Linked DNA regions of Homo sapiens: all the other regions are linked to region 5. Evidence: promoter capture Hi-C in 16 types of primary human blood cells and fetal thymus (Javierre and others, 2016). All regions are on one chromosome and are shown on one strand. Each heading gives the region's core, a stretch centred on a gene start or on the middle of the fragment in contact. The rest is flanking DNA. Distances are from core to core; before and after follow the strand shown.

Region 1 (3,419 bases), core at 691-3,190, 1.3 Mb before region 5:
GGTGCCCACCACCAAATGCAGCTAATTTTTTGTATTTTTAGTAGAGATGGGGTTTTACTATGTTGGCCAGGCTGGTCTCGAACTCCTGACCTCAGGTGATCCATATGCCTCAGCCTCCCAAAGTGTTGGCATTACAGGCGTGAGCCACCACGCCTGGCTAGATGACTTTTCAGCAGCAACAGTGGAAATCAGCAGACAGTGAAATGTCTACTATATGGAATGAAAACTACCTGTCAATCTAGAATTTTATGCCCAGTGAAAATATATTTAAAGAATGATGGTAAAATAAGGATATTTTCAGATAAAAACAACTTGTCACGAACATCTCACCTATGAAAGATCATTTAAAGCAGCAGTGTTCAATGGAAGTTTCTGTGGAATTGGGAATGTTATTTATTTTTTTCTTGAGACAGGTCTCACTCTGTCACCCAGGCTGGAGTGTGGTGCAATCATGGCTCACTGAGCTAAAAATAATATATTTATGGATGAAGTAATGTGATAATATAATGATAATGTGATCACTCAGGCAATCCTCCCACCTCAGCCTCCTGAGTACCTGGGACCACAGATGCACACAACCTCGACCTGTCTAATTTTTAAAATTATTTGTAGAGACGAGGTCTCGCTGTGTTGCTCAGGCTCAAACTCCTGTGCTCAAGTGATTCTCCCACCTCAGTCCTACAGACTGCTGGGATTGTAGGTGTGAGCCACCATGTTTGGCCTGGAAATGTTCTTTTTCTGTGCTGTCCAATATTGTAGTCATAAGCTACATAGGGCTATTGAGTACTTGAAAATTCAATAAACTGAATTTTTAAGTTTATTGGCTTAATAAGTTATTAAGTTATTAATAAGTTATTAAGCCAATAAACTTAATTTTTATTAAATATCCACATGCACCATATTGGACAGTATGTTTTTAAAGGATATACTTAGGACAGGATGAAATTGATCTCAAATCACAAAATGAAATGTATGAAGAGTAAATTAAAGGTAAAGAAAATGATACATATTTAGAGAATGAAAATGAATATGGATTGCATTAAACATAGTAAAAATGTCTAATGGATTAAAAACAAGGGTATAACAAGTAGGATAGGTAGAGTCTAGGATTTAAGGTCCTTGTCTTACCTAGAAGGATAGTAATTTAAAAAAAACCTCTTATGGAAAATTTTAAATATGTAAAAGAGAAGAGTATAATGAATCCTTATGTATTTATTACCCACCTTCAACAGTTATGAATTCATGACTAAAGTGTTTTTATATATATCCCAAGTATTTTAAAGTAAGTCCTAACAATCACATTATTTAACCCATAAATATATTGTTCTTATAAAAGATATGGGCTTAAAGTATAATACCAGTATCATATACAGAAAAAAATCAATAATTTCTTAGCATTATGTAGTTAGTATTCACATTTTCCCAATTATCTAAAAAAAGATTTAAAAAATTATATTTGGTTTCTTCAAACTGGAATCCAAACAGGGTCTACATATTGCATTTTGTTGATGTGTTGCTTATGTCTTTTAAAATCTATAGATTTTTTGGGAAAAGAGAGAATAAAGATTTTGATTAGACTTTACTGCATGGTATAATTTCTAGAAAACCAACAAAAGAACAGAAACAGAGGGTATAACTTCCAAATCAGTAGAGGAAATAAATAGAATGCTAAAAAGAATTGAGGGGAAAGAAGGCAGCAACAACAAAGGAGAGAAAAGAAACTGGACAGGGGGCTGGGCACGGTGGCTCATACCTATAATCTCAGCACTTTGGGAGGCCGAGGCAGGTGGATTGCTTGAGGTCAGGAGTTCGAGACCAGCATGATCAACATGGTGAAACCCCGTCTCTACTAAAAATACAAAAATCAGCAGAGTGTGATGGTGCATGCCTGTAATCCCAGCTACTTGGGAGACTGAGACGGGAGAATCGCTTGAACCCAGGAGGTGGAGGTTGCAGTGAGCAGAGATCATGCAACTGCACTCCAGCCTGGGCGACAGAGCGAGACTCTATTTCAAAAAAAACAAAAAACAAAAAACAAAAAAAAAAACTGAACGGGACAAATGGAAAGCATAAAATATGATGTTAGATTTAACTTAAATATATAGCAATTAAAGGTAAATTGTCTAATAACCACACAGGTATCATCCAGGCCTGAGGTGCCAGCAGCTCTTGCCTGGAATAATTTTCTAACTAGTACGCTTGTTTCAGTTCTTGCTTTCCACTATGTATTAACCAAATGATAACAGGAGTAGCCTCTTAACAATGTAAATCACATCACAACACTCTCCTGTTTAAAACTTTCTGACAACTTGCTAGTAATCTCAATAAAATTCACTCTTTCTAGTGCCTATAAGGTTCTATGTGATCCAGCCCATTTGTATTTCTATGATTGCATTTCCTGTTATACTTCTTCACTGTAGCTCAGGGCGCTTAACATATGCTGTTCCATTTCCCTGGATCACCAGGGTCAGCCAGAATTCTTAGTTCTAAGTAGTCAAATAATCTCTGGTTAATTTAACAGAAAAGGAATTTATCACAGGAGGAAGCTGCTACCACTACTGTTATTGGAATCTGCTGCCACGTTTGCCACTAAGGGTTCTACACACTCTCGGCTTTTTAAATGCACTATCTTCTACATTAAGGTCCAGCACAGATGCTTCTCTTGTGGAGTGGAGGTCATATGACTGTACCCTTGCCTTATGGGAAGCAAGGAAAGCAAATATTCAGTAGTAGGCAGAGGTTTCTGCCTTCTTTCAAGATGCATATGGAAGGGAATTCCCCAAGGACAAGAAGGTGTTTTGATGCTAAGCAACCAAGAGAATGACTTGTGCATCATGATGCTTCCTTTGGATCCTCCCTAGGTTTGCTTTCCCTTTCATTCCTGTTTCTACTCAGTTGTCACCTCCTCAGAGAGGCCTTTTGTAATCACTTTCTCCAAAATGGCAATTCCCTATCCCTAATCTAGTACTCTGTTTCTTACTCTGCCTTACTTTTTCTTCATACCGTTTATCACTGCCACAACCACCACTACTACTACTACTTATTTACTTCTTTATTGTGAAGTTCTTATCCCAGAACATAAGCTCTTTGCTCTTCATTTACTCAGTAAACATTTGTTTGTTGAATGAAGAGAAACATAGAGATTATGCTATATATTGCTGAGGAAATTTAAGAGCTCATCTTAGAAAGTTTTGTTGGAGAAAAGATCTTTTAAAAATGGGCTTTGATTGAAGTATAGCATTTGGAGAGAAAGGATGTAACCATTCTAAACTGGGAAAATAGCATGAGGGGAGACATTGGGTCTGGAATAAGGTAAGTGTGTATGGGATGAGGAAGGAGAATTGGGTCTGGAATAAGGTAAGTGTGTATGAGATGAGGAAGGAGAATTGTTTAAAATCGGATGACTGTCAGGGCCCTAT
Region 2 (3,452 bases), core at 623-3,122, 1.7 Mb before region 5:
AGATTAAGTAACATTTTTCTACACTGCAAATGTTTGGTGTGCATCTTATTATATGGGATGTAATGTCCTGATGACTGAATAAACTGACAATATCTGTTTAAATTGTAAGGATCTTTTTTCGATACCAGCTAGTATCACTGATTTTTCTATTTCTTGTTGATTTCTTTATGGATTTGTTTTCTTCTTGGTTCCTCCTTCCTTTAATTTCCTGAGATGTTCTTTCTCATTCCTTTCGTGTTCTGAGAACTTGGGTAGATCTGGTTTCCTTTTCCTCAGCTGGAGTTCTTTCTCCTTTCTGGATACCTAGTTCCTTTCCTCCAACTCTGTCTGAAGTCTTCTACCATTTTCTCCCTGAAGCCCTTTGTTTATTCCTCTTCCCTAATTTTACAGCTCTAGGTAGCCTTTCTGAGTTCCTTTGATTAGTGATGCCAGCTCAATCATTTCATTTCTCCTCTCTGGGCTCTTGAAACTGGCACTACTTGTCCGGGCGTGGTGGCTCACGCCTGTCATCCCAGCACTTTGAGAGGTCCAGGTGGGTGGATCACAAGGTCAGGAGTTTGAGACCAGCCTGGCCAATATGGTGAAACCCCGTCTCTACTAAAAAAAAATACAAAAAAAAAAAAATTAGCCGGGCGTGGTGGTGCGTGCCTGTTATCCCAGCTACTTGGGAGGCTGAGGCGGAAGAATTGCTTGAACCCGGGAGGCAGAGGTTGCAGTAAGCCAAGATCGTGCCACTGCACTCCAGCCTGTGTGACAGAGCGAGACTCCATCTCAAAAAAAAAAAAAAAGAAAAGAAAAAAAGAAACTGGCACTGCTTCCCCTTAGTCATGTAATAACAGGGCCAACATCCTCATCTATAATGGAAGCAGCACGTAGTCTTCAGAAACCACTGGCACATCCATCTAGAAGAGGCAGAGGATTTAGTATTGGAAAGGCCCTTAAAGATCATTTGCCTACCCTCCTCATCTTGTCATCTTCACATCAGAGTGACCTCACTGTGTATTTTGAACTGAAGCTACAGCACATCTGGCTGTTTTAATATTTTTTAAACCCATTAGGTCTAGAAATTAAATGAGCGCCTAGCAGGTAGTTAGCTGTGTCTTGACCTTGCCATAAGTACATTTTATTTTTTGGGTTTTTGTTTTTTTTTTTTTTTGAGATGGAGTCTTGCTCTGTCGTCCAGGCTGGAGTGCAGTGGTGCGATCTCAGCTCACTGCAGCCTCCACCTCCTGGGTTCAAGTGATTCTCCTGCCTCAGCCTCCCAAGTACCTGGGATTACAGGTGCCTGCCACCACACCTGGCTAATTTTTGTAATTTTAGTAGAGATGGGGTTTCACCATGTTGCCCAGGCTGGTCTCGAACTCCTGACCTCAGGTGATCTTCCTGCCTTGGCCTCCCAAAGTGCTGGGATTACAGACATGAGTCACCATGCCTGGCTGCCATAATTACATTTTGCACCTCTCCTTCCCCAGTTCAACCTCGACCCTGGGTCACAATGGTCAGAACTTTATTTCTCAGTGTGGACGCAGTCATGGGATTCTGTTTCAAAGACAATGGATATTGTTTATGCTGGCTCTCTTTTTTTTTTTGTTGAGATGGAGTCTTGCTCTGTAGCCTAGGCTGGATTGCAGTGGCCTTATCTCGGCTCACTGCAACCTCTGCCTCCTGGGTTCTAGCAATTCTCCTGCCTCAGTCTCCCGAGTAGGATTACAGGTGCACGTCGTGATGCCCGGCTAATTTTTTGTATTTTAGAAGAAACGGGGTTTCACTGTGTTGCCCAGGCTGGTCTTGAACTCCTGAGCTCAGGCAATCCACCCACCTCGGCCTCCCAAAGTGCTAGGATTACAGGCGTGAGCCACCGCTCTTGGCCCTGGCTCTTTTTATTTTATTTATTATTATTATTTTTTGAGATGGAGTTTCACTCTTGTTGCCCAGGCTGAAGTGCAATGGTGCGATCCCAGCTCATCACAACCTCTGCTTCCCGGGTACAAGCAATTCTCCTGCCTCAGCCTCCCCAGTGGCTGGGATTACAAGCATGCACCACCACGCCCAGCTAATTTTGTATTTTTAGTAGAGACGGGGGTTTCTCCACATTGGTCAGGCTACTCTCGAACTACTGACCTCAGGTGATCTGCCTGCCTCATCCTCCCAAAGTGTGGGGTTGCAGGTGTGAGCCACCGTGCCCGGCAGCTCTGTCTTTTTAAATTGCTTCAAAGTTCTTTGAAGAATCCTGAGTCTTCCTCATAGTGTCTTTAAAAGTTCTGTTTTGGAGGATTGCTTGAGGCTAGGAGTTTCAGACCAGCCTGGTCAACATAGCAAGACCCCACCTCTACAAAAAATTAAAAAATTAGCTGAGCATGGTGGCTTGTGTCTCTAGTCCCAGCTACGTGGGAGGCTGAGGTAGGAGGACCACTTAAGCTCAAGAGTTTGAGGTTGCAGTTAGCTATGATCACGCCACTGTACTCCAGCCTGGGTGACAGAGAAGACCATGTCTCTAAAAACACACACACACACACACACAAATGAAAAAATAGTTTTGTTGATTTTTTTTTCTTCAAAGAATTTGAAGTAGCATATAGCTGCATCTTGAGCTTGATACAATGAAATGATAATCAGGATCCCCAGCAGAAAAATCTGTTGCTGAAAATTTGCCTTCCTTTTGTATACTACACCAACTCAAAGATTCTTCAATTCTTTCTCTTCTGCTCTGTTCTCTCAACCTCCAAGGGAAAGTAGGTATGTTCTGCTACCCAGGCAGTAAGAAATCTGCTGAGCTGCTGTGCTGTGGAATGAATTGTGTCCCCCACACCCCCAACAGCCCCACCCCAAATTCATATGGTGAAGCCATAACCCCCAGTGTATTGATATTTGGAGATGGGTCCTTCAGGAAATCATTAGGTTTAGATGAGCTCATGAAGACGGGACCCTCATGATAGGATTAGTGCCATTTTAAGAAAAGACATCAGGCCAGGTGTGGTGGCTCATACTTGTAATCCCAGCACTTTGGGAGGCTGAGGCAGGCAGATCCTGAGGTCAGGAGTTCGAAACCAGCCTGGCCAACATGATGAAACCCCGTCTCTACTAAAAATACACAAATTAGCTGGGCACGGTGGTGGGTGCCTGTAACCCCAGCTACATGGGAGGCTGAGGCAGGAGAATCACTGGAACCCAGGAGGCAGAGGTTGCAGTGAGCCAAGATCGTGCCTTTGCACTCCAGCCTGGGCGACAGAGCAAGACTGTCTTGGGGGAAATAAAAAAAAAAAAAGACATCAGAGAGCTTTCTCTCTCTCTTTGCCATGTGAGGACACAGTGAGAAGGTAGCTATCTATAAGCCAGGAAGAGAGCCTTCACTAGATACTGGCCCAACTGGCACCTGATCCAGAACTGTGAGAAAATAAATTTCTGTTGTTTAAACCACCCAGTTTGTGGTACTTTGTTATGAAGCCTGAGCT
Region 3 (3,197 bases), core at 16-2,515, 1.8 Mb before region 5:
CTTTAACATCTCTGATTTTGTGACAGACTTGCACTTAACAAGGCTCTTTAACGACCTATTCCAAAGGGTTTTCTAACAAAAACAACAGTAATTTTTAAAAATACATTTTTGTGTTCTGGTTTATGTAACTTCATCTTATGCTCTTGGTATCCCTGTGAGGTAATCTAAGAATGTAAGGCTCTGCACAAGAGATGCCTGCACAAGGATGTAGGAGACGGACTTGCAAAGTGGTTCACTAAGGTATTCTCCGTTAGTAGGAGGTTTGCCAACCGAATTTCTTTCATTCCACATCTGCGATGAGGCAGGGTGAATTGGCAGATTTCCCCAATCCGAAAGGAAGCTGCAATTCCCAACTCAGTCACTAGATGGCTACGTAACTGCATCCAGAGGGGACAGACAAGGAAAACAACTCCGTCCCAGAACCAGAATCCACCCAGAACCAGAATCGTCCCAAAGTGGCAGTAAACCAAATTAGCCTTTTTTTGGGAGCTTTCTAGATGTAAAATGGTTAGGAGGTGCTGAGTATTCTGAAATACACCGTGAGGGCATTACACTGAAAATGCTACTCATTCTGTTCCTGGATAAGTTAAAAGAATAACCGTAATATTTTTATCCTCCATCTTGTGGCTTTTTTTTTTATCTTACTCTTTCCTCTCTTCGTTCTCCCTCATCCATCAGAATTCATAAGAAGGGGCACAAGGGCAAATTTCCTTCTTTTTTTTTTTGTTTTGTTTTGTTTTGTTTTGTTTTGTTTTGAGACGAAGTCTTGCTCTGTCGCCCAGGTTGGAGTGCAATGGCGCGATCAACCTCTGCTTCCCAGCTTCGAGCTATTCTCATGTCTCAGCCTCCCGAGTAGCTGGGATTACAGGCGTGTACCACCATGCCGGGCTAATTTTTGTATTTTTAGTAGAGAAGTGCTTTCACCATGTTAGTCAGGTTGGCCTCGAACTCCTGACGTGAGGTGATCCACCCGCCTCAGCCTCCCAAAGTGCTAGGATTACAGGCGTGAACCACCGCGCCCGGCCTAAGGGCAAATTTTTTATGATCCCATTACTGAAACACACTTAAAATGTATCAAGGGACAGTAAGTTTACAAGTTAATCAGTAGCTCTCCAGGTGGAATTTTTAAAGGAGACCAAGTTTACGGTTTTATGAAAGAAAACACCCTCACAAGTTTCAAGAACATTTGGAAACTTCTGTATCAGATCAGATAAAAATCCATACAAATAGGTATTCTTTCCTTGATAATTGCTGTAACATTATGTGTATATGACTCCAGATGTTTTTTTCTTTTTTATTTTTATTTTTTATTTTTTTGAGACGGTGTCGCCCAGGCTGGAGTGCAGTGATGCGATCTTGGCTCACTGCAACCTCTGCCACCCAGGTTCAAGTGATTCTCCTGCCTCAGCCTCCCGAGTAGCTGGGACTACAGGCACACACCACCACGCCCAGCTAATTTTTGTATTTTTAGTAGAGACAGGGTTTTACCATGTTGACCAGGATGGTCTTGATCTCTTGACCTTGTGATCCACCTGCCTCGGCCTTCCAAAGTGCTGGGATTACAGGATTGAGCCACCGCACCCAGTCCAGGTGTTTTTTTCAAAGTACATAGTAGCATACGTTTCTTTATAAAAATAAAAACTAGCATTTAGAAATAATCTTTACAATTTTATTATAAAAAGAACTATTGATCAAACTGAAGACTGAGCTCTGATTTTTTTATTTTGCCCAAATTCCTACCTAAGGAGTCTAGGAAGTCATGCACTACAAACCATAAATTCTCATCAAATGGGTTTTATTTGACCCTATATATCGTGACACACTTTTCATTCTAACTCTGGCATAACACTATGAGACAAGGAAAAAATATTTAACCCCAAAATATATTTCCTTGCCATACCTTGAAATTGCCCTGCAAAGTGTCTTGTGGGAAAAATCCACATTTCCCTTTTGTTTTCCTTTTCTTTCCAGATCCTGGAGATAATCAACTAAGAGCCAGGCACCCTTTTAGGTCTGATAAGAAACATTTTACAACCTGCTTTCTCTCTGAACTCTGCTATCTGAGAGATTCCTCTGCACTCTGCATAATAAAACCTGGTCTCTATGATCCTTTTTCTTTTCTTTTTTTTTTTTTTTTTTGAGACAGAGTTTCACTCTTGTTGCCCAGGCTGGAGTGCAATGGCACGATCTCAGCTGACCGCAACCTCCACCTCCTGGGTTCAAGCGATTCTCCTGCCTCAGCCTCCCGAGTAGCTGGGATTACAGGCATGTGCCACCACACCTGGCTAATTTTGTATTTTTAGTAGAGATGGGGTTTCTCCATGTTGGTCAGGCTGGTTGCAAACTCCCGACCTCAGGTGATCCGCCCACCTCAGCCTCCCAAAGTGCTGGGATTACAGGCGCAAGCCACCACGCCACAGCCTCTATGATCCTTTTTCTTAACTTGAACATTCCTTTGCATTAACCCCAGGTCTTCAGGTGAACTCAACCAATTGTCAACCAGAAAATGTTTAAATTTACTTATAGCCTGGAAACCCCCGCTTTGAGGTGTCCCACCTTTCGGAACCAAACCAATGTATTTCTTAAATGTATTTGATTGATGTCTCATGCCTCCCTAAAATATATAAAACCGAGCTGTACCCCGACCACCTGGGTCATATGTTCTCAGGACCTCCTAAGGGCTGTGTTATAGGCCATGGTAACTTATATATGGCTCAGAATAAATCTCTTCAAATATTTTACAGGGTTTGACTCTTTTCACCGACAATAATCTGGTGCCCAACATTGGGCCTCGGAGAAGACTCAGGACCCTGAAGGAGTTGCCCAAAACTGGAGCTAAGGTACCAGCAGGAGCCCATTGAAGCCTCACCGAATTCGAGCTTCTCCTTCGGTGGAACTGGGAAGTTCTCCTGAGCCCCAACCTCCTGTTTTGGTTGATGGTCCTTGATTTATTCTAAGCTGATTTTTTCCTCTCTGTCTTTTCTCCTAGGAAGTTGGTTAAAATCTTAATTTTAGTTTCAGAAGTGCATTCAAAAGGATCTTTCTCCATTGCCTTTTCTCTCAAAATTAATCTCAATTGGCTTGTCTGTGCACACTTTGCGTGAGGAACTGAACTGTTGTTTTTCATAAGTAAGTGAGAGACTGAGTTCCTCAGCTCTGAAGTGAAAGGGCATTTTGCTCCTCCCAGCTGAAAGGCA
Region 4 (3,396 bases), core at 529-3,028, 1.9 Mb before region 5:
TCCTTGGGAAAAGGGAATGTGTTTAATTCTATTTTCCTGTGTCTAACACATAACCTTGTTCCATAAACATCTGTTGAACAAATAATGACATTAACACGTGCTCTTTTTAAGATATAAACTCCTTGTAGCTGTGAATCGGTATACTACACAATCCGTGCAACCATCGAGCGCCTGTGGGGGCCCGGCGCGGTGGCTCATGCCTGTAATCCCAGCACTTTGGGAGGCCGAAGTGAGCGAACACTTGAGGTCAGTTCAAGACCAGCCTGCCCAACATGGTGAAATCCTGTCTCTACTAAAAATACAAAAATTAGCCGGGCGTAGTGGCATACGCCTATAATCCCAGCTACTTGGGAGGCTGAGGCAGGAGAATCGCTTGAACCCGGGAGGCAGACGCTCCAGTGAGCCAAGATCGCACCATCGCACTCCAGCCTGGGCGACAGAGCGAGACTCCGTCATTAAAAATTTAAAAATTTTAAGGCCGGGCAGGGTAGCTCACGCACGTAATCCCAACACTTTGGGACGCCAAGGCGGGCGGATCGCGAGGTCAGGAGATCGAGACCATCCTCGCTAACACGGTGAAACCCCGTCTCTACGAAAAGTACAAAAAATTAGCCAGGCAGTGGCGGGCACTTGTAGTCCCAGCTACTCGGGAAGCTGAGGCAGGAGAATGGCGTGAACCCGGAAGGCGGAGCTTGTAGTGAGCCCAGATCGCGCCACTGCACTCCAGCCTGCGCGACAGAGCGAGACTCCGTCTCAAAAAAAAACAAAAATTAAAATTTTTAAAACCTTAAGGCTCCAGCGAGCCGAGATCGAGATCGCACCATTGCACTCCAGCCTGGGCGACAGAGAGAGACTCCGTCAATAAAAATTTAAAAATTTTAAAAGTTTAAGAATTTTTATAACTGCTCATTTTCAAAGCCCACTTGAGGCAGAGACTTAGCAAATTTTACATTTTGAGAGAACTGTGCTTTTTCTTTGCCCAACACGTTGTTGTAACCCAAGAACCTCAAGCTCCCCAAAGATATTCAACAAGAGGCTCACAGGATCTCTTCAGGTATGCGACATCTGAACTGTTGTTCAGTTGAAGGCACCGGGGGAGAGAAGGAAACTGAGTAGGGAAAAAAAACTTTGTGGAAGGTAAATAATGTCTGACACTTCCATCGCACTAGGTATTTTCACACGCTTGACATCTCACCCAATCCTCAAAACAAACAAAAAACCTATGAATTATGTATCAGTACTTTTCCACCACAACGTTGAGAAAACACACGGAGGCTCAGAGGTTACAGAGATGTGCCCCCGATCAAAGAGTCAGTGTCAGAACTAACTGTGGAAACTCGGCTTCCCTGCTGTCAGTCCCAGCAGGAAAGTGAAGCTTCCAGGCAGACGAAAGGACGAACCGACACAGCAGCCCCTGAGCCCCGCCGGAGGGCTAACCCCAGAGGCCCTGAAGTCTCGCCGCCCGGCCAGGGCCTCCTGGCGCGGGGGCCTCACTCCGATGTCCCTGAGCTCCCGGGCCGGCGGGCACCTACGTGCTTGGAGGTGAGGGCTGTGATGCCGCGGACAAGGCTGCCCAGCCTCGAGGAGAAGGACGCCTTGGCGGCCGCGGGCCCACCACCGGGCTGGTTCTGCAGAAAGAGTCCCGGCAGCGCCGTCAGCGTCTTCTCCACTATGTCGCTCATCGCCGCCGCCGCCCGCGATGCCGCCGCCGCCCGCGATCCCGTAGCCGCCCGGCTTCATGCCCGGCCGCCGCTGCCGGCCCGGCCTCCGTAGGCACTTCCTGTTTTTTGAATAAGAAATCTTTATTGGCGTCCCACCTGAACAAGTTCAGCGTCGTTCTCGCGAGAGGCCACCAGAGGGCGCAAGAGACCGCGGGGGTGGAAAAGGCCGCTCGCTCGAGATTGCGCGCGTAAGTAGACCTCCTTTCTCGCGACGGGGTAGCGGTTCCGGAATCCCCCAGAACCGTGAGTCCTCCTGAGGAAGCCGTCGGGGGCCTGGCCCTGTTAGGCACTGTCTCCCAGAGTCCCCCTTTCCCACTAGCCGCCTCCGCGTAGCCCGAGACCGCGTCAGGAGTTGCGTCTTCCTGGCTGCGCCTTTTTCGGGACGTCCCCGCGCCGTCCGCCGCCTCTCACTGTCCCCGGAGCGCGCGCCACCCGCCCGCTTCCCACAGGCGGTTTCACGCGGGTCCCCGGCGCCGCGCGCGGCTCCGGCCCTGGCGACTCTTGGGACACCCGAGTAGTTGCGTGATAGCGGGGCTGTCCTGAGGATTCGGCGTGCCAGGTTGAGAGCCCGTCGCGTGCCGGGGACTCGCGGCCACTGTCGCTTCCCGTCCGCCCCTCTTCTCCTGGGATTTGGGGAGGTGGGCGGGAAAGAGAACTGGTCGGCGGCCACCCTTGCCGACTCCTCCTCAGCAGGTCGCAGTTGAAAGGTCATCCTTCTAGAGCCCACTCCCCTGGCCCGGCGGGCAAGGATAGGTCTCCAAGTCCCACCCTCTCACAGCGCTCGGTTCTGTTCCACTTTAGAACAGGTCGCAGTTGCCACTACGTAAACAGCTCCCCATAGAGAGAGTATTTTATTCATTCCGATTGCTCCGTCTTTTATCTAGAACAGAGTCTGGTACAATGGCTCTCGAAATGTGGTCTGGTGACCTCAGGGTCGCTGAGACCCTTCTAGGGAATTCACAAAGTCAAAACAACATTGATAACGTTTCTTACGTGTTATTTGCCGTTTTTACCCTCATTCTGTTGGAAATGTACAGAGTTTTCAAGCGGCTAGATGACGATTGACTAGCTGGTAAAATGTATCCTGGAGTATCCTTGTGTTTTCTAGAATTTTCTAAGGTAGTAGGTTTAGGGCATAAATACGTGCGTTTTCAGAGATTAATGCAATTTGCTCTCAGTACTCCTAGTGTGTTTCTAGGAGGTAGGTTAGGTAGGTGGTGATAGCCTCCCTTCAAGGGGAACAAACTTGCTAAATAAATAGAACAAACCAGCCCATAGTGTACAAACCACATCCGAGGCTCCTGGTTAGAAAATTTTGCAGCAAAGAGGTACGAGAGCAGAAGGGAAAATCCCCAAACTCTCACAAGCGCAGAAACCCATGATCAGTGTCGTTGGGCTGAATTATACTCATTATAATAGTAAAAAAAAAAAAAAAAAAAAAACACCACTCCTGGGTGAAGATTTAAGATACTAATAAGACATGCAGTGTATGTACTAGCATATACAACCACAGCGCACATGGCGACAGAAAACCAGAGAACGTGCTTAATAGCAGCACCCGTTCTCCCCGCTTCATGAATGATCCTGTGAGACTCCTACAAAGGGAGTTTCCCCAGTGTCAGTGCATGCTGTCTCACCTTTGAGCAGCCCGCTCTGATCAGCTGTGAGGGTGTAC
Region 5 (3,476 bases), core at 824-3,323:
AGTACTATAGTATTTTTATGAGTGCATTGCTATTATCTTTTTACTCAGATGAGGGTATATTATGGCTATAGACCACCAGTAGGAAGACAATCTGAAAATTCAGTTATTTTGTCTTTCAATTGTGAAGGAGGACGGTCATCTGTTAGTTTACATAACTACTCCTTATAAATAACTTAGTTTTTCTGAGCAACCAACCCTAAATTCATTCAGCATTCACTGAATCCCAGCTAGGTGTGTGATAGGCACCAGGGACCTAACATTACGTTAATTGCACATATATTTACAAATGTTACATAAATTTGCAGTTCAAATACACATGCATTGATATTAAATTTGAGGTGGCAGAAAATTTACTAAAATTAAATAAATATATTTAAATGTAAATATAAATGTGTAAATATAAATGTTTCTCCTTTCAAGATGTTTCTATTGCCAGCCTTGATATAAGTCTTGCTGACACAATATAGCTCCTTTCAGCAGGCCAATATATAATACAGGTTGAATGTCCCTTATTTTGACATACTTGAAACCATAAGTGTTTCAGATTTTGGATTTTGGAAGATTTGCATTATACTTACTGGTTGAGCATCTCTAAACTGGAAGTCCAAAATCTGAAATGTTCCAGCGAACATTATCCTTAAATGTCATGTCTGTGCTCAGAAAGTTTCTAATTTTGGAACATTTGGGATTCAAGAGGGTTTGGAATTTCATAGTTTCCATTAGAGATACCCAACCTGTATCAACATAAGTACAGCAAGGGGCCTTCACATAACAAGCCTCATATTGGAGTCTAATAACCAGACTAATAACCTAGACTAACTGAAAAGGCAATTAGTCTTTACTGATATCTCCTGAAGCATGACAAAGCAAATTTCTTAAAATCTCTTTCCCATTCCTAGCTGTGGATCTCCACACCAGTGCCCCAAACAGCAGCCACCTCAACTCTACCTTCACTTAAGTGTAATTTAGCTTATACAGTTGTCCCTAAGTATCCCAGGGGGGATATTGGCTCCAGGATCCCTGCTGATACCAAAATCCATGAGTGCTAAAGATCCTTATATAAAATGGTGTAGTATTTGCATACAATCCATGCATATCCTCCGATATACTTTAAATCATCTCTAGATTACTTATAATACCTAATACAATGTAAATGCTGTATAAGCAGTTGTTAAACTGTATTACTTGTATTTTATTGTTGTACTTGATATTTCTTTTTTCCTCAAAATATTTCTATCCGCAGTTGGTTGAATCTTCACAGAGGGTGTGGGTGTTGGAGGGTGTGTCTGAGGAGATGCCCAGAAGAAATTTGCCATGCTAACGGTAGTGCCCAGTTTCAAGACAGTCTCTGCCCTTAAGGAGCTAAGGATCTGAAGATAAAATAATTACCCGTTGGGTGGTGTTATACAGATCCTGCATAAAATTAGGATTTCTGAGATGGGCGAGGTCAGCCTGGATGTGAGCCTAGAAGTGGGCATGAACCTGGATAATGAATTAACTCTCAATAAATATTTGTGGGGAGCTTCCTAGCGGGCCTCTTCCAGTCATTCTGTGTATGCGTTTTACATATGCATTTTTCTAGGGCAAGACTCCATTATTTTCAGAATATTCTCATTCCTTTATAGTCATGACTCCCTTTATTTGCGTAACATAAGGAAGGAGCAGATGTACGGTGGGCAGATGAAAGCTTTTCCAACATCACTAAGAGGTGGTTTCAGATCCTGAAGAGGTCTTTGAAGTCCCGGGAGACCTGGGTCCCAAGTGGTCTGACACTTCTCGTTTAACAGTCGCAGGGGTGGCGTGTGGTTCGGGGCACCTGCTCCTGGGCGCCTCCACCTGGCCTTAGCCTCCAGGCCAGGCCGGGTTCCTCCTACCCTTGCTGAGGCCATTTGCTGTCACTCCGCCCACTGCCCCTCTCTGCCTCCTCCCCACTCCTTTTCCTTCCGTGCGCCTCCATTTCTAACTACGCCTCCAGCCCATTCGGGCCCTCCTCGGCTTCCGTCCCAGATGATCCCTCCCCGAAGCTGCCACCGCCTCCTCCATCTCCCGGAGCTGGAGCCGCCTCCTCGGCCAGTGGCGTAGCCGAATCGGTGTCGCGGCCAGCCAGATAGGGGCGGAGGTCCGGAACCCAGTCTGGACCCGAGCGGGGGGCCATGGAGAAAGCGGCCCGAGGCGCTGTTTACACCGACTAGCGCGGGCCCGTTGCGGCTGCAGGCACCATGGACCGAGCCCCCACGGAGCAGGTACGCGGGTTTGGGCTGGGCCCGCCGAGCCGGGGGTTGGGGTCGCCGCTTCCTCACAGGCCAGGCCCAGTTCTCCGAACGTGGGGACCGGGGGCCGGTCCTGCGGCCGCAGACCCCCTCACCTGGGAGCCTGGCAGCTCCCAGCTCTCCTTCATTGTTCCAGCTGCTGCCTGGGACTTGGGGGCTTTTCCAACCCTGATTACTTCCCAGGCGGAGGGCTCGCCGTTGCCGCTTCTCCCCTGCTTGGTGAAGGGGTCAGAAGGCTCCAAGTTGTCCCTGCTCTCCTGGGAGGAGGGCTTATAACTTCTAGTAGTCTCCCCGCTTCCCCCATTCCCTTCAGCTCTGGAATGTGTTTTCAAGGTGGAAAGGCGTTTGAAGGCTTCTCACCCAGAAAGACTGTAAGAGAATGTGTGGTAACTACAGATGAAGGGAAGTCACGGGCCTTTTAGGTCTGTGTTCAATGGAGCGAAGCATTGTTTTTGCAGTGGTTTTACGGAGGTGTTTCTTTTAAGAAACGATACTACGATTTCCCCTTGTCCTTTTATCCAGTTATTTTGCAAAGAATTGTAATTAGTGGGTTTTTTTTTAAAGCTAGCTCTATTTTAAGGGTGTAAAGCATAAGCTTATTTTCGAACCCGTTTTCATATTCGCAAAGTAGTCCTATTAGTGTTCTGTTTTATTTTTATTTGCATCAAATTCCTGATTATGCATGCTAGTAGGTGGTAGCAGGCAGGGATGATAACAGTGTTAAAAGTAATCGAAAACAATAGTTTCCCCCCCAGTATTTTCCACTCTTAAGATCTCTGCGAAACGACTTAATTTGAAGTCCAAGTTTATTCACTCTCTATTCCCTTCTTCGAAGGCCTTGCCCATTGATGACTAGATGACGGAAGAAGAGAGGCTAGTAATTTCTGCCTATTAATTTTACAGTTGGATAATTAGCACCTGAATTAATGAGATAAGATTTCCCAAATTCCTGTATGTGTCTATATGTAGTTGAAGCCGGTTTGTATTTTGAAATCGGACTCTTAGCAGGCAAAGCACAGCTTCCTAGTTGTGTATACTTGTTTTTACAGAAGACTTTTTTTTTTAAAAAAAAGCTTTATGTGAATGTAACTCTGAAGACACAAATGAGTTTTATAAAACAATACATGGAATTACCAAAGAGAAATTGATACAGAGTCTCTTGGCAAATACACTTAGGCATTTATGTGACCCAGAAGTATTCTGTAT
Region 6 (3,497 bases), core at 695-3,194, 1.4 Mb before region 5:
GAATTTAGTGTAGTAGTCCCCCCTTATCCATGGTTTCGCTTTCCATGGTTTCAGCTACTTGCAGTCAACCACAGTCCAAGAATATTAAATAAAAAATTCCAGAAATAAACAATTCATAAGTTTTAAATTGTGCACCACCTCACTTCGCCCAGTCTGTGACATGAATCATCCCTTTGTCCAGTGTATCCACACTGTAGATGCTACCTGCCTGTTAATCACTAAGTGGCCGTCTCAGTTACCAGACTGACTATAGCAGTATTACAGTGCTTGTGTTCAAGTAACCCTCATTTTACTTAATCATGGCTTCAAAGTGTAAAAGCAGAGATTCACGTATGTCAAAAAGAAGTTGTAAACTGCTTCCTTTAAGCAAAAAGGTGAAAGTTCTCAACCTAATAAGAAAAAAAACCAAAAACCTCATGCTGAGGTTGCTAAGATCTATGGTAAGATCTTTTATCTGCAAAATTATGAAGGAAAAAGAAATTTGTGCTAGTTTTGCTGTCACACCTCAAGTTGCACAAGTTATGGCCACAGGGCATAACTTTTATTACACTATATTGTTGTAATTATTCTATTTTATTATTAGTTATTGTTGTTAATCTCTTGTTACTAATTTATAAGTTAAACTTTATCATAAAAATGTATATATAGGGAAAACATAGTATATATAGGGTTCAGTACTATCTGTGGTTTCAGGCATTCATTGGAGGTCTTGAAACATATCCCCTGCAGATAAGAGGAAGACTGCTGCATTATTAAAAACTAAATTGTAGGCCCGGCGTGGTAGCTAACGCCTGTAATCCCAGCACTTTGGGAGGCCGAGGCAGGTGGATTGCCTGAGCTCAGGAGTTCGTGACCAGCCTGGGCAACACAGTGAAACCCCATCTCTACTAAAACACAAAAAATTAGCTGGGCGTGGCGGCATATGCCTGTGATCCCAGCTACTTGGGAGGCTGAGGCAGGAGAATTGCTTGAACCCATCAGACGGAGGGTGCAGTGAGCCGAGATCATGCCACTGCATCCAGCCTAGGTGACAGAGCAAGACTCCCTCTCAAAAACAAACAAACAAAAAACTAAATTGTAATGTGTTAGTCAAAAGAGACAAGGCTTAGTTAACCCTTATTCACTATACATGAGAACTGTTTTACTTGAATTAGTATGGTATTAGTCAGGTGTGCTGGCGTGTGCCTGCAGTCCTAGCTACTTGGGAGGCTGAGGCAGGAGGATCACTTGAGCCCAGGAAGCAGAGGTTACAGTGAGCCAAGGTCATGCCACTGCACTCCAGCCTGGGTGACAGAGCAAGACCTTGTCTCAGTTTAAAAAAAAAAAGGGCCAGGTATGGTGGCTCACGGCTATAATCCCAGCACTTTGGGAGGCTGAGGCGGGCAGATCACCTGAGGTCAGGAGTTCAAGACCAGCCTGGCCAACATGGCAAAACCCCATCTCTACTAAAATACAAAAATTAGCCGGGCATGGTGGCAGGTGCCTATAGTCCCAGCTACTCGGGAGGCTGAAGCAGAATTGCTTAAACCCAGGAGGCGGACATTTCAGTGAGCCGAGAACTCACCACTGCACTCCAGCCTAGAAGACAGAGCAAGACTCCGTCTCAAAAAAAAAAAAAAAAAAAAAATTAGTACGGCTATAAATGTAGAATTCCAAATAAGTTTAATATAATATTTCATCATTCAGTACTAATAAATTTAATATTATGGAACTGTTGCAGGCCTTACTTTCCATTTATTAATCATATGACTTTGAACAAATTCCGTAAATCACTCCCAATACCACCACCACTCTTCAGTTTACTTTCATCTGCAAAATGAAATAGGAACTATTTGTCTGCTTCTATAGGGTGACCATAGGTATCAAGTGAAAAAATATACAAAAACATGCTTTGAAAACTGTAATATGCCATTACAACATAAAGTATTACGGTTAAAGAAATTGGAAATGGGTCAGGCGCGGTGGCTCACGCCTGTAATTCCAGCACTTTCGGAGGTTGAGGCAGGTGGATCACAGGTCAAGAGATCAAGATCATCCTGGCCAACATGGTGAAACCCCATCTCTACTAAAAATACAAAAATTAGCTGGGCTTGGTGACATGCTACTCGGGAGGCTGAGGCAGGAGAATGGCGTGAACCCAGGAGGCAGAGGTTGCAGTGAGCTGAGATCGTACACTGCACTCCAGGCTGACAACAGAGCAAGACTCCATCTCAAAAAAAAAAAAAGAAGAAGAAGAAAGAAAGAAACTGGAAATTGGAAGTGTACCTGATTCTTCATCTGCTATATAAATGCAAACAAGAGTCCAATACAACTTTGTCATCAAAATTATAGTAGGCAAAGCACGGCCACAAATTCTTTGACATTTTTCCTTTCAAAGGTGAGGGTTGTACGCTGGTCTTTGCTCTAACCAACAGAGTATGTTGGAAGTAATGTTGTGCGAATTTCTGGGCTCAGGCTTTTTGGGAGACTGGCAGCTTCTACTTCCTGACTCCTCAAACATGTATTCTCGGAACCTAGCCGCCATACTGTTCAAGTCACGTGAAGAGGCTATGTGTGGGCATTCCAGTTGACATTTCCAGCTGAACTCCTAGCCAACATCAAACGCCTTCACGTGAATTAGCCATTTTGGATGTCCAGACCAGCTGAGCTCTCGGTTGACTCCAAACTCAGCTGCTTATCTGAATACAAACGCATTAAACTCTAGGTGAAAACCACTTAGCTAAGTCCAGGCAGGCCAGAGAAACAGGAGAGATACTAAATTACAGTTTTAAGTCACTATGTTTTGGAGTGATTTGTTATGCAGCAATAGGTAACTGGGACAACAACAAGGTATTTTTTAAATGTTTCCTTAATTATATCTAATTTTATTAGCAACACATACCTGAAGACATTTTTTTCCTTTCACTTCCATAAATATGAGTGCATTTTCATGGAGAAAAGTTCGTAATATAGTGCTAGACTTATGAAAAAAATTTAATGTACTGGCTTTATTTTCCAACTGTCTTACCCAAAAGTCATTTTGATTATTTTCCATTATGTCCACGCTTTTTATTTTTTATTTTTTGAGACGGAGTTTTGCTCTTGTCACCCAGGCTGGAGTGCAATGACGCAATCTCGGCTCACTGCAACCTTCGCTTTCCAGGTTCAAGCGATTCTCCTGCCTCAGCCTCCAGAGTAGCTGGGACTACAGGCGTGCACCACCACGCCCAGCTAATTTTGTATTTTTAGTAGAGACCGGGTTTCGCCATGTTGGCCAGGCTGATCTCGAACTCCTGACCTCAGTGATCCGCCCACCTCCGCCTCCCAAAGTGCTAGGATTACAGATGTGAGCCACTGCGCCCAGCCACGTCCACATTAATAAACAAATGCCCATAAAGATTAAAGTCCAAGTAAATATATTAAAAAACGAAATGCTAAAAAAGGCACCTTTAAAACATTTTTGTTAGTTTTTCTTATACATTGTTTTCTTAAAAAAACAGATGTCTATGTGCAAAATT
Region 7 (3,464 bases), core at 834-3,333, 1.3 Mb before region 5:
TTGAGTATCTTTTACATGTTTATCGGCCATCTACACGCCCCTTTTATATTTTTTAAGAAACTAATATTTAGATACCCTTTTTTGTGAGGTGACTGTTTAAGTTTCTACCTTTTTTTTTTTTTTTTTTTTTGAGATGGAGTCTTGCTTTGTCGCCCAGGCTGGAGTGCAGTGGCACGATCTTGGCTCACTGCAACTTCTGCCTCCTGGGTTCAAGCAATTCTCCTGTCTCAGCCTCCCGAGTAGTTGTGATTACAGGTACGTGCCACTACGTCTGGCTAATTTTTATATTTTTAGTAGAGACAGGGTTTTGTCATGTTGGCCAGGCTGGTCTTGAACTTCTGACCTCAAGTGATCTGCCTGCCTGGGCCTCCTAAAGTGCTTGGATTACAGGTGTTAGCCACTGCCTGGCCTCTACCCATTTTTTTATTGGATGTCTTCTTTTTTATTGATTTGTGGGAGTCTACAAATTCAAGATAGCAGCAAAGAGATGTATTTCTATTGTAGACATGAATGCATTTGGCTGGGTGTGGTGGATTACATCTGTAATCCCAGCACTTTGGGAGGCTGAGGTGGGAGGATCACTTGAGCTCAGGAGTTTGAGAATAGCCTGGGCAACGTGGCAAAACACAGTCTCTACAAAACATACAAAAATGAGCTGGGCGTGGTGGTGTGCACCTGTAGTCCCAGCTACTCAGGAGGCTGAGGTGGGAGGATCGCTTGAGCCCAGGTTGAGGCTGCAGTGAGCTGAGATCACATCACGGCCTTCCAGCCTGCATGGGCGACAAGGTGAGACCTTATTCCCTCCACCTCCCCAAAAGATGAAATGAATTCATTTGTTTGATGCTATTAGAATACCAGTAACTCCCCTTACTTTGGCCCCAAATTCACAAATGAACCCTCCAAAAGGTAATGCAGTTAACTTCATGCATTCTCTTTAAACAATGTACTGAGTCTTTATGCCAGGGAATTTGGAATTAACAGATACAGTACAGGTCTCTCATTTCAAAGTAGTATTCCTAATCATGAAGGAAATGAGAGACCTGTACTGGAATCCTGTCTTTAACACCTTTGAGGATGGTGAATTTAGGTAAGTTATTCAACCTATTTTAGCCTCGGTTTCTTCATTGGAAAAATGGGGCAAACAATACTTATTTTACAGAGTTGTGAGGATTAAATGAGACAATATATATAATATGCTTTGCACAGTGGCTGGCATACAGGAAACGTTTAATATATGGTAGCTACTATAAACTCGGTTATTTCCGTGTAGCTTTCCATGTCTACATGGAGGGAGAAAATGAGCAGATGTCCATTATAATTTAGCTATTACAGTTTTCACTCTAAAGTAAAAAAGGCATTTAGATTTATATGTCTTCTGGGAGTTTGGTTCTTCTGACTCCCTTCATCTGTGAGACCATAGGTACTTTTATGTAATATGATAAAAATTATTAGAAAAAGAAAAAAACGGCCGGGTGCAGTGGCTCACACCTGTAATCCCAGCGCTTTGGGAGGCCAAGGCAGGTAGATCACCTGAGGTTGGGAGTTCGAGACCAGCCTGACCAACATGGAGAAACCCGTCTCTACTAAAAATACAAAATTAGCAGGGTATGGTGGTGCATGCTTGTAATCCCAGCTACTTGGGAGGCTGAGGTAGGAGTATCGCTTCAACTCAGGAGGCAGAGGTTGCGGTGAGCCAAGATCGCACCATTGCACTCCAGCCTGGGCAATAAGAGCGAAACTCTGTCTCAAAAAAGAAAAAAATAAACTAAAAAGGAAAAAAGGGCCGGGCACGGTGGCTTACGCCTGTAATCCCAGCACTTTGGGAGGCTGAGGCAGGCGGATCACAAGGTCAGGCAATGAAGACCATCCTGGCCAACATGGTGAAACCCCGTCTCTACTGAAAATACAAAAATTAGCTGGATGTGGTGGTGCACACCTGTAATCCCAGCTATTTGGGAGGCTGAGGCAGGAGAATCGCTTGAACCCAGGAGGCAGAGGTTGCAGTGAGCCGAGACTGCACCACTGCACTCCAGCCTGGCGACAGAAAAAGACTCCCATCTCGAACACAAAAAACAAACAAAAAAAGGGAAATAAAGAATATGCAAAGTACAATCCCTCAAATTTTTATTAGACCCACAGAAATAAAATTAGTCTGTTAAACTGCTATAAGTTTCTAAATTCTTACTTTCTGTAAATGCCTTGACATGGATGTGTAACAAAGGGCTTACAGACTGGCACTGCCTTGTGGACCACACTTTTGGTGAGACTGCTCTAGAGCGCTGACAAAAATCAGACTTTGAATCCACAGGGCTGAAGTCAAAGCAACTGAAGGGTGTCCTGACTCACCAGCTGGCCACCTAGTGGCCTCCTTCTAGTCATAAGCACAACCTTGTGTCACTCCTTAGTTCAAAAACCATCCATTATTCTGCCTGACTCAAGGGTAAAATCTCAGTCCTTTAATCTGACATCCAAGGCCTTCCAGAGCTGGTTCTAAACAACTTTTTAAGTCTGACTTTCCACTATCCTCTACTTCACTAGACTGCATTGTCCAATATGGTAATAACTTGTCCCACTTGAAATGCAGAAGTGAAATGAGGCTAATTTAGGAACTGAATTCATAATCCTAACTTTAATTTAAAATAAAATTTAAAAATATACACGATTCGATTACCGTAAAACTTTTAAGTATGCTTGGAACGACTTGGGTACGTGAATCTATTTTTTCAGCTGGAAATTTTATGAAATCAAGTACTGAGATATGCTATAAGTATAAAATACACACCAGATTTCAAATGCTTAGTTATGAGAAAGATAATGTAAAATATTTTTAATATTTAGTAATTTTTTATGTTGATCACATGTGAAATAATATTTGGATATGCTAGGGGTTAAAAGTGTAATTAAAATTAATTCCACCTAGACAACATGCCCCAAACCTAGGCATCACTATTGATTCCTCCCTTTCCTCATTTAATTGGTAAGCAAGATAGGTCAGCTTTTTGGATCCATCCACTTCCCTCATCTCTACTGCTACTATCCTAGTCCATGATACTCCATTTCTTTTTTTTTTTTTTTTTTTTTTGAGACGGAGTCTCGCTCTGTCGCCCAGGCTGGAGTGCAGTGGCACGATCTCGGCTCACTGCAAGCCCTGCCTCCTGGGTTCACGCCATTATCCTGCCTCAGCCTCCCGAGTAGCTGGGACTACAGGCGCCCGCCACCACGCCTGGCTAATTTTTAAAAAAATTTTTTATTTTGAATAGAGACGGGGTTTCACCATGTTAGCCAGGATGGTCTCCATCTCCTGACCTCTTGATCCTCCCACCTCGGCCTCCCAAAGTGCTGGGATTACAGGCGTGAGCCACCGCGCCCGGCCAGATACTCCATTTCTTAAATCCTTCAATGGCTTCCAGTGCACTTCACCTTCTTATTGAGGCTGAAGACTTCACCTCCTATCATTCCTTCTT

What was found. The method cuts DNA at HindIII sites, captures the fragments that hold promoters and counts their contacts. A CHiCAGO score of 5 or more calls a contact.
Region 1: a contact is called between a fragment that was not itself captured here and the fragment with the promoter of SECISBP2L in region 5, in 1 of 17 cell types (total B cells). The highest score is 6.0, in total B cells.
Region 2: a fragment that was not itself captured here is called in contact with the fragment with the promoter of SECISBP2L in region 5 in 1 of 17 cell types (total B cells); the score reaches 7.9 in total B cells.
Region 3: a contact is called between a fragment that was not itself captured here and the fragment with the promoter of SECISBP2L in region 5, in 1 of 17 cell types (total CD4 T cells). The highest score is 5.2, in total CD4 T cells.
Region 4: a contact is called between the fragment with the promoter of AP4E1 here and the fragment with the promoter of SECISBP2L in region 5, in 4 of 17 cell types (total B cells, naive CD8 T cells, fetal thymus and 1 more). The highest score is 8.8, in total B cells.
Region 6: a contact is called between a fragment that was not itself captured here and the fragment with the promoter of SECISBP2L in region 5, in 7 of 17 cell types (naive CD8 T cells, total CD8 T cells, total CD4 T cells and 4 more). The highest score is 10.8, in naive CD8 T cells.
Region 7: a fragment that was not itself captured here is called in contact with the fragment with the promoter of SECISBP2L in region 5 in 5 of 17 cell types (naive CD8 T cells, total CD8 T cells, non-activated CD4 T cells and 2 more); the score reaches 9.8 in naive CD8 T cells.

The regions. Positions count from the first base shown.
Region 1 is chr15:50,330,487-50,333,905 of GRCh38, reverse strand. The region is part of intron 1 of GABPB1 (GA binding protein transcription factor subunit beta 1); the gene reads left to right. Among named protein-coding and RNA genes, the nearest start is that of GABPB1-AS1, 22 kb to the left of the region's middle. The HindIII fragment of the contact is 5,779 bases long and covers 1-3,419 here.
Region 2 is chr15:50,760,072-50,763,523 of GRCh38, reverse strand. The region is part of intron 1 of SPPL2A (signal peptide peptidase like 2A); the gene reads left to right. Among named protein-coding and RNA genes, the nearest start is that of SPPL2A, 3.9 kb to the left of the region's middle. The HindIII fragment of the contact is 5,841 bases long and covers 1-3,452 here.
Region 3 is chr15:50,874,274-50,877,470 of GRCh38, reverse strand. No RefSeq gene overlaps it. Among named protein-coding and RNA genes, the nearest start is that of AP4E1, 33 kb to the left of the region's middle. The HindIII fragment of the contact is 5,142 bases long and covers 1-3,197 here.
Region 4 is chr15:50,907,065-50,910,460 of GRCh38, reverse strand. AP4E1 (adaptor related protein complex 4 subunit epsilon 1) reads right to left here and starts at 1,778. Exons shown (of 21, transcript NM_007347.5): 1 at 1,533-1,778. The coding sequence starts at 1,682. RefSeq lists enhancers at 702-1,443, 1,490-1,659, 1,680-1,969, 1,444-2,185. The HindIII fragment of the contact is 3,809 bases long and covers 1,378-3,396 here.
Region 5 is chr15:49,045,043-49,048,518 of GRCh38, reverse strand. It overlaps SECISBP2L (SECIS binding protein 2 like), which reads left to right and starts at 2,073. Exons shown (of 18, transcript NM_001193489.2): 1 at 2,073-2,243. The coding sequence starts at 2,220. RefSeq lists enhancers at 1,607-1,736, 1,837-2,186, 2,477-2,616. The HindIII fragment of the contact is 1,178 bases long and covers 1,690-2,867 here.
Region 6 is chr15:50,425,689-50,429,185 of GRCh38, reverse strand. The region is part of intron 1 of USP8 (ubiquitin specific peptidase 8); the gene reads right to left. Among named protein-coding and RNA genes, the nearest start is that of USP8, 3.0 kb to the right of the region's middle. The HindIII fragment of the contact is 4,576 bases long and covers 1-3,497 here.
Region 7 is chr15:50,357,923-50,361,386 of GRCh38, reverse strand. GABPB1-AS1 (GABPB1 antisense RNA 1) reads right to left here. Exons shown (of 1, transcript NR_024490.1): 1 at 3,075-3,464. It overlaps MIR4712 (microRNA 4712), which reads right to left and starts at 1,058; the gene lies at 977-1,058. The HindIII fragment of the contact is 6,184 bases long and covers 1-3,464 here.